2 separate regions of the Homo sapiens genome follow, and region 1 is linked to region 2. Evidence: promoter capture Hi-C in human tissues and cell types (Jung and others, 2019). All regions are on one chromosome and are shown on one strand. Each heading gives the region's core, a stretch centred on a gene start or on the middle of the fragment in contact. The rest is flanking DNA. Distances are from core to core; before and after follow the strand shown.

Evidence for each region. Contacts are between HindIII fragments. The study calls those that stand out against the background at their distance.
Region 1: a contact is called between a fragment that was not itself captured here and the fragment with the promoter of SYNDIG1L in region 2, in 2 of the 25 tissues and cell types used here (lymphoblastoid cells and mesendoderm cells).

What each region holds. Positions count from the first base shown.
Region 1 is chr14:74,380,220-74,384,768 of GRCh38, forward strand. No RefSeq gene overlaps it. Among named protein-coding and RNA genes, the nearest start is that of VRTN, 34 kb to the left of the region's middle. The HindIII fragment of the contact is 3,288 bases long and covers 1-2,912 here.
Region 2 is chr14:74,424,405-74,428,614 of GRCh38, forward strand. SYNDIG1L (synapse differentiation inducing 1 like) reads right to left here and starts at 1,806. Exons shown (of 4, transcript NM_001105579.2): 1 at 1,508-1,806. The HindIII fragment of the contact is 14,133 bases long and covers 1-4,210 here.

The DNA of each region.
Region 1 (4,549 bases), core at 19-2,518, 45 kb before region 2:
TACACAAATACTTATCATTGCATTGTAATTGGCTACAGTGTTCAGTCCAGCAACGTGCGGTATAGATTTGTAGCCTAGGAGCAATAGGCTGTAGCACATAGCCTGCATGTGTAGTAGGCTGCACCACTTAGGTTTGCGTAAGTGCATTCTATCACGTTCGCACAATGACAAAATTACCTAGCATCGAATTTCTTGGAATGTATCACTGTTGTTAAGTAATGCATGACTGTACATACCGAACAGAATGTAAACATATGTTTAGCAAGAATGTGTTTAAGAATATTCATAAAAACTTTTCATAATAACCAAAGGAAATAATCTGAATGCCCGTCAACAGTAGGATGGATAAATAAGCTGTGGTGTAGTTACATAATGGAATGCTACGTGATAATGAGAATGAATGATCTACAGCTATACTCAACAATGTGGATCAATCTTAAAAAAACATGTTGAGCTAAAGAAGCCAGATATGAAAGAGGAGTTATGGTATTATTCCATTTATGTAAAGCACAAAAACAAGCAAAACTAATTTATGCTGTTAGAAGTCAGGATAATGGTCACCTTTGGGGAGAGATAGTACTTGGAAGGAAGCATGAGGGGGCACTTACGGTGTGTTGGAAATGCTCTGGTTTTTTTTTTTTTTTTGAGACAGAGTCTTGCTGTGTCGCCTAGGCTGGAATGCAATGGCACATCTCGGCTCACTGCAGTCTCCGCCTCCTGGGTTCAAGCGATTCTCCTACCTCAGCCTCTCGAGTGGCTGGGATTACAGGAGCATGCCACTATGCCTGGATACCTTTTGTGTTTTTAGTAGAGACGGGGTTTCACCACATTGGCCAGGCTGATCTCGAACTCCCGACCTCGTGATCCTCCCACCCCAGCCACCCAAAGTGCTGGGATTACAGGCATGAATCACCGCGCCCGGCCATGCTCTGTATTTTTTTTTAGAGACAGGGCTCACTCTGTCAGAGCTCACTGGAGCCCTAAATTTCTGGGGCTCAAGTGATCCTCCCGTCTTAGCCTCCCAAGTAGCTGGGATTATAGGCATGTGCCACTACCCTTGCCAGAAATGCTGTTTCTTAAACCAAATTCTAGTACATGGGTGTGTTCAGTTTGTGAGAATTTGCCAAGCTGTATACTTGTGTTTGGGTACTTTATGTATATGTCAATAAAAAGTTTAAAAAAAAAAAAAAAAACCCAGGCCGGGCGCGGTGGCTCACACCTGTAATCCCAGCACTTTGGGAGGCCGAGGCGGGTGGATCACGAGGTCAGGGGTTCGAGACCAGCCTGACCAACATGGTGAAACCCTGTCTCTACTAAAAATACAAAAATTAGCTGGGTGTAGTGGCGGGCGCCTGTAATCCCAGCTACTCAGGAGGCTGAGGCAGGAGAATTGCTTGAACCTGGGAGGCGGAGGTTGCAGCGAGCTGAGATCGCGCCACTGCATTCCAGCCTGGCGACAGAGCGAGACTCCGTCTCCAAAAAAAAAAAAAAACAAACAAACCCCAGATTCCTGGGTTGAGAAATGCCATTAAGAAAACAAACAGGCAAGCTACAAATTGGGAAAAAATATTCGTAAAACATACCTGACAAAGAACTGGTAGACAGGATATAAGAGAATTTCTGCAACTTAATAAAGACAAATGACTCAATTACAACAAAATTGACAAAAAATATGAACCGACACTTCACAAAAAAAGATATACATGTGGCCAATAAGTACATGAAATTGTGCTCAAAATCGTAAGACACAAGGGAAATGAAAATTAAAATCACAATGAGGGCCAGGAGTGGTGGCCCACATCTGTAATCCCCTCACTTTGGGAGGCTGAGGTGGGAGGATCACTTGAGGCCAGGAGTTTGACACCAGCCTGGGCAAAATAGGGAGACCCGACCCCCCCCCGCCGCCTCTACAAAAACAAACAAACAAACAAACAAACAAAAAACCCACAATGAGATAGGCTGGCTGAAATTTTTTTTTTTGAGACAGGGTCTTGCTCTGTCACCCAGACTGAAGTTCAGTGACACAATCGTGGGTCACTGCAGCCTCAACCTCTTGGGCTCAAGTGATTCTCCCACCTCAGTCCCCCAAGTAACTGGGGCTAATTTTTTAGAGAGACAAGGTCTCACTATATTGCCCAAGCTAGTCTTGAGCTCCTTAGCTCAAGGCAATCCTCCCACCTCAGCCTCCTGAAGTGCTGGGATTACAAGCATGAGCCACCACACCTGGCCCACAGCTAAACTTAAGAAAGACTGGTAAGACTAAATATGAGGATATGGAGCAACTGGAACTGTCATACATTGTTGATGGGAAAGGCTTGGGAGTTTCTTTTTTTTTTTCCTTTTTTTTTTTTTGAGACAGAGTCTCGCTGTGTGCCCAGGCTGGAGTGCAGTAGCACGATCTCGGTTTACTGCAAGCTCTGCCTCCCGGGTTCATGCCATTCTCCTGCCTCAGCCTCCCGAGTAGCTGGGACTACAGGTGCCCGCCACCATGCCCGGCTAATTTTTTGTATTTTTAGTAGAGACGGGTTTTCACCCTGTTAGCCAGGATGGTCTCCATCTCCTGACCTCGTGATCCACCTGCCTCGGCCTCCCAAAGTGCTGGGATTACAGGTGTCAGCCACCGTGCCTGGCCCGGGAGTTTCTTAAAAAAACTAAATATATGCTTACCCTCTGACTCAATATTTTCACCTCTAGGTATTTACCTGAGAGAAAAGAAAATATATTTCCACAAAAAATATTGTATAAGAATGTTAATGGAAGCTTTTTTTTTTTTTTTTTAAGACCAAGTTTTGTTCTTGTCGCCCAGGCTGGCGTGCAACAGCATGATTTTGGCTCACTGCAACCTTCCCCTCTGGGTTCAAATAATTCTTCTTCCTCACTCTCTGGAGTAGCTGGGATTACAGGCATGCACCACCACGCCTGGCTAATTTTTGTATTTTTAGTAGGTGGGGTTTCATCCGTTGGCCGGGCTGGTTTCAACTCCTGAACTCAAGTTATACACCCACCTTGGCCTCCCAAAGTGCTGGGATTACAGGTGTGAGCCACTGCATCCAGCCCATGGAAGCTTTATTCCTAAAAACTCCAAACTGGAAACAACTCAAATGTTTATCAGTAAGAAAATGCTAAAACACTATTTTTATCTATACAAAGGACACTATTCATTAATAAAAAGAAATAAACTACTGATACATGTGACATGAATAAAACACTTCGCTGAACGAAAGAAGCCTAACATGAAACAGTTTGTACTACATACTTCCATTTCTATAAAGATCTAGAATAGGCAAATCTAATCTATGGTGGAAGATAAAAACCAGAAAAAGTGATTGCCTCTTAAAGGAATAAGGAAGGGATTGACAGGAAATGAGCAAAAGAGAACTTTCTGGAGTTATGGTAATGTTTTATATCTTGATAGGGATTTGATTTCCACAGGTGTGTGCAATTGTTAAAACTCAGCAAATGTACACTTAAGCAAATGTACATTTTGCAATTCATTATAATGTAAATTTTTTATTGAAAGGAAAAGAGGCTGGGCGCAGTGGCTCAGGCCTGTAATCCCAGCACTTTAGGAGACCAAGGCGGGAGGATCACCTGAGGTCAGGAGTTTGGGACCAGCCTGGCCAACATGATGAAACTCTGTCTCTACTAAAAATACAAAAAAATTAGCCAGGCGTGGTGTCAGGTGCCTGTAATCCCAGCTCCCAGCTATTTGGGAGGCTGAGGCTGGAGAATCTCTTGAACCTGGGAGGTGGAGTTGCAGTAAGCTGTGATTGCGCCACTGCACTCCATCCTGGGTGACAGAGAGAGACTCTGTCTCAAAGAAAAAAAAAAGGAAAACAAAACTATAACCAAATATTGAACTCTAGTTGATAATATGCATGATGAAATATTTAGGGAGAGTGGATAGATGTCTGTCATTTACTTTGAAATACATTTTAAAAATGAGGACGGAATGATAGATGGAGGAAGGATGATAGATGGATAGAGCAATAATGTCACTGAGAGAATCTAGGTGGGTGTTCGTTACAAAATTATTTCATCTTTGCTGCATGCTTAAAGTTTTTTTATTATATATTTTTTAATTTCTTTATTTTTGTAGACGGAATCTCACTCTGTTGCCCACCCAGGCTGGAGTGCAATGGCCCGATCTCAGCTCACGGCAACCTCCGCCTCTCGGTTTCAAGTGATTCTTCTGCCTCAGCCTCCTGAGTAGCTGGGATTACAGGCGTGCGCCACCATGCCCAGCTAATTTTTGAATTTTTAGTAGAGACGGGGTTTCACCATGTTGGTCGGGCTGGTCTCAAACTCCAGACCTTGTGATCTGCCTGCCTTGGCCTCCCAGAGTGCTGGGGTTACAGGCGTGAGCCACTGCTCCCAGCTTTTTTTATTATAAAATGTAGAGAAAAATGAGTGTTTTAATGAAGTCTCTCCCAAGAAGTATTGAGTCCTGCTTAAAATATGCCACACACTGCTTTGAATGTGTCCCAGAGATTCTGGTATGTTGTGTCTTTGTTCTCATTGGTTTCAAAGAACATCTTTATTTCTGCCT
Region 2 (4,210 bases), core at 556-3,055:
CTTACTATCTTCCAGGTGCTGTTGGGGAGGGGGTCATGAAGGGGGACAAAGAGATGAAAACAACACAATTCCTGCCTTCAGGGAGCTCTTTCCCTAGATCTGTGGTTCTTAGGGAGAAAAAATAAAAACCGGTGAGTCAGACTCTTACCTTATATTATCTCCTATAGGTGATGATGGAAGAGGAGAAGAAGGGAGGGCACACTTTTTTCTCCTTAAGGTTTATAAGTTTGGCTTCACTGATTCTGGGACCCCACGGTGGCCAAGGACAAAGGGAGACATGGCCATGCTGGGAGAAGAGGGGGTAGGGGTGACAATAATCAGGTCACTGACAGCAGGCCTGGCTAGGGGTTGGGAACAGTGACAGCAGCGCACACTGGTATGGAGATGTACAGGTGGCAAGCCTCCAATCAGGTGCATTGTTTTTCATTGGGCCCCAAGGCAGTTCCCTGAGGTGAGCAGAGCGGTGACCTTATCCCCACTCCAGGGGTGAGGAGGATGAGGTTGAAAGAGCTTAGGGAACTAGCTAAAGCCAGTAAATGCCAGCACCCAGCCAGGAACTCCTACTCTAGTGCTCTTTCTACCCCTGGGGGTAGGGAAGTTGTGTTGGGTTGGAGGGTGGGGATAAAGCAGTAGAAAGAAGTGGTCAGCCACAAGGGTAGGCCAATTCTTCCTCCACGCAGTTTTATTTTGATCGCTACATTCTGCCAGTCATAGAGAACTCTGCTCTGAAGAACTAGAAGCACTTTGCAGGCCTGAATGAGCTCATTCAGCGCACTCTTGCCAGAAAGAGAGAGAACTCCTAATGGAGGCTCTGTCTAGGGTCACCAGCACATAATAGAAAACAGGACCCAGGTTCCCTGACTCTTTGCCCTCATGCGCCAAGAGATGTGATGCAAATCCTGCCTGCTTCTGTGAGCGTCAAGAGTGTCATAGGAAAAAAAATTGAGGTATCTTCCAGGACCTCCTTCCTTCCCTGAAGAAATGGGTTAATCCATCCTAAGGGGCCTTGGCCCAAGAGCCAATCCCTTGGCCCAAGAGCCATTTCCAGGGCAGAGAAATCTCAGAGCAGGGGGTACCACAGCCACCTCAGTCACCTGGGTGAACAGGTTTGGGTGCGAGAAGAGGGGAGCTTAGTGAAGCCTGCTCAGATTTTGCTAGTGTCGCAAAACCTTGGTGGGGACTGGGGTACCAGGGAGTCTGAGGCTCTAATCAGTATTTCTTGCCGTCAGTAGGCAGGATGTCTAGGAGCTGCCTGAGGTCAGGGTCAAGGCCTGATGTTGTGAGGTTATGGTGTCTTGACCCCAGTTCATCAGCCCCCTCCCAGCACCCCCAGCCTGCAGGATGAGGGGTAGGGAGGGACGAAGTGCAAGCCTTGGCGGAGCGCAAGGTGCGGCCAAGCAGGGAGTCAGAGCCCCTAGCCCCGAGAGGGCTCCCGTGCCCTCCCCAGCTCACTCCCCGCTCCGTGCCTAGCTCTGCGCTCCCGCGGCGCCCCCAGACCGCCCCTTACCTGTCCCGCCGCGGACGGTCCCGCCTCCTCCGCGGGGCTCGGGGGCTCGGCATGGGCCGGTGAGCGACGGCGCCCCCGCCTCGCGGTCGCGGTGGAACTCCCAGGAGGGCTCCCCTGCTCTCGTCCCCGCGTCCCTGAGCAGCCGCCGCTTCAGCACCGCGGACAGCTCCCGCCCGCAGCCCGCCGCCGCCGCCCGCCCCGCCCCGCGCGGTCCCGGGAGCCCCGCATCCTGGCCGGGCCCCGCCGCCGCCGCCGCCGCGCAGCCCTCGGCCCGGCCCGAGGCGGCTCCGCGCCGACTTGGGAGAGCAGCGAGGAGGGTCCCCCTCCTTCCCGCCTCCCGCCGCCGCCGCCTCCCTCTCGCTTCCGTGCTCCGTGCTCCCTTCCACGCTCCGGAATCAGCCCACCAGGCACTCCGGACCCGGCTCCGGGGCGGGGCGGGGCGGGAAGTCGGGGGAGCCCGGAGGAGGCGGCGAAGCGAGGGGCGCGCAGCTGGAACCCGCGTACCCGCTTCCTGGAGCCGAGCCCTCTTTCCCAGCCCTTCTCTCCCCTCCTCCCGCGCACCCCAGAGCGATGGGAGGCCCTTGGGCTTCTTGAAGCATTTTGGAGCTCCTAGGCTCCAAAGCCAGCCCTGAGTTTTTAACATTGATCTGCCCTAAAAAGAAAAACAAACAGAAAGCATTTATTGAGCACCTACTATATACCAGATACCAAGCCCGATAATGTGTTTAATCAACATAAGCTCATTTAATTTTCTTAACAACTCTATTAGGCAATATAGTGCCCCTCTTCCCCTCTTCCCCTCCCCCTGCCCCCCTCCCCCTGTCCCCCTTCCCCCTCCAATTTTGCAGACCAGGACGCTGGGCTCACAAGGATGAAATCCTGTGATTTGGAGATTCAGTGCTGTGCTGGGAAGGGCACAGGTTTTAAAGCTCATGGACCTAAGTTTTGGTCCTAGGGTCCCACTTGCTGTATAACCTCGAGCAAGTTACCTAACCTCTTAAAGCCTCAGGTTCCTCATGGACAAAGTGAGGGGTCATATGAGGACAAAATGAGATGACATACGTGACACATTGGCACTCAATAGGCACTCAGTGAGTGAGCGTCCCCCTGAGTTTTCCCAGCAAGAGCCCTGAGATCCGAATGCAGGCCTTTTGGCTGCTTTGTCTCCACCCTGTGCTGCTCTTTATCCACCTCCACCTGCGTTTCCTTTTTTTTTTTTTTTTTTGCATGGGGATGCCCTATCTTGAGTGTTACCAGTGGATGAACCTATTCTTCGAGCGCCTTCACAAGGTCTTGAGTCTCACCAAAGTCCCAGGAGGTCAGGAGGAGAGAGTATTCTCATTTTCTGAAGGTAAGTGTGGGTTTGCAAAGTAAACCACAGAGCAGGCTGCAGCTGGGGCTGGAAGACACAAGGAACCAGGGTCTGGCAGTGGGATTCCACTAGCATCCACTAGTCTCCTAGCATCCAGCTGAGGATGCTATAGCACATAGCATGGTGGACTCCAGGACTCCTTCACTCCCACAGGATGTGGGCATCTGGCACAGTTCGGTGTAGCTCCTAGAGTGCACAGTAGGAGCCAGGAGCAAGTCCACATCATGGGGCTTGGGTCTCCTTCCCTTCAAGGCAGGACAGAGAACTCCCTTATCCTGGGGTCTGTCTCAGGGCTGGTATTGGTGTTTAACTTGTTGGGTGCTAAATATATTATTGCTCTTCCTGTCTCTGCCCCATTAGTGGATAATGCAGTGAGAAGCCCCCTGAGGCCAGCAAGGGTCTTGGACCACTCATCTCAGGCCCATACTTCATCTTCACAGACACCCTCCTCCTCAAAACACAGACATACAGACACACACACAACACAGACACACATAGACACACACAGACACACACACAAGACATTGTCTCTGATGTCAGGCCACCCTCCTGTACCTTTGCTTTCTCTGGCCTTCCTCTCACAGGGGCTCATGGCCACCTACTTGGCCTTGGCCTCCCTCTGCTGCTCCCCTCCCCACCCTGGCTGTGCTCCATGCCTGGGCTGCATACTGAAATACTAATTGAAAGGATAATAAAAAAGCCAGTGAAGCAAAAGCCGCATATAAATTCTAAATACTAATGTTGATAATTACATGCTGCTGCCTGGAGGGAAAACTCAAAGAGAGGCTGTTGGTGTTGTATCAAGGGCCCTGGCCTGGTGCCAGGAGACCCAGGTTCTAGTCTCGCCTTTGTCATTAATTGGCTGTGCGACCTTAGGCAGTCGCCTAATCTTCCTGGGCCTTTGCTTTCTTATAATTCAATAGCTCTGAAGAAACTATAAGTGCAATCAGCAATGTATGATGCTTGTGACAGAGAACAGTGGGTAATGCAGTGATAAGAATTTCTTCCCGGGAAACTAACCTTTACCTCTCACAAGGTACAGGGGTGGCTTAGGGACTGAAGAATCTACAACCATGCAAAGTTTCCATTCTTTTTCCATTCTCTCTTTATCCCTCCCTTCCTTTTTCCATCAAGCATTTCCTGCCATGTAATGAAAATCAACCCCTCTGTTAGACACCAAGAATGGAAAGTATAAACCATTGTCCAGGCCTTTGAAGGAGCTGCAATGAAGGGGATGCGGTCCATAGACATGTTGACCAGCAATTCCAACACCTTGTGATAAATGCTGTCATGGAGTAAGTGAAGAGTGCCAGAGAAGAAAACAACTCACC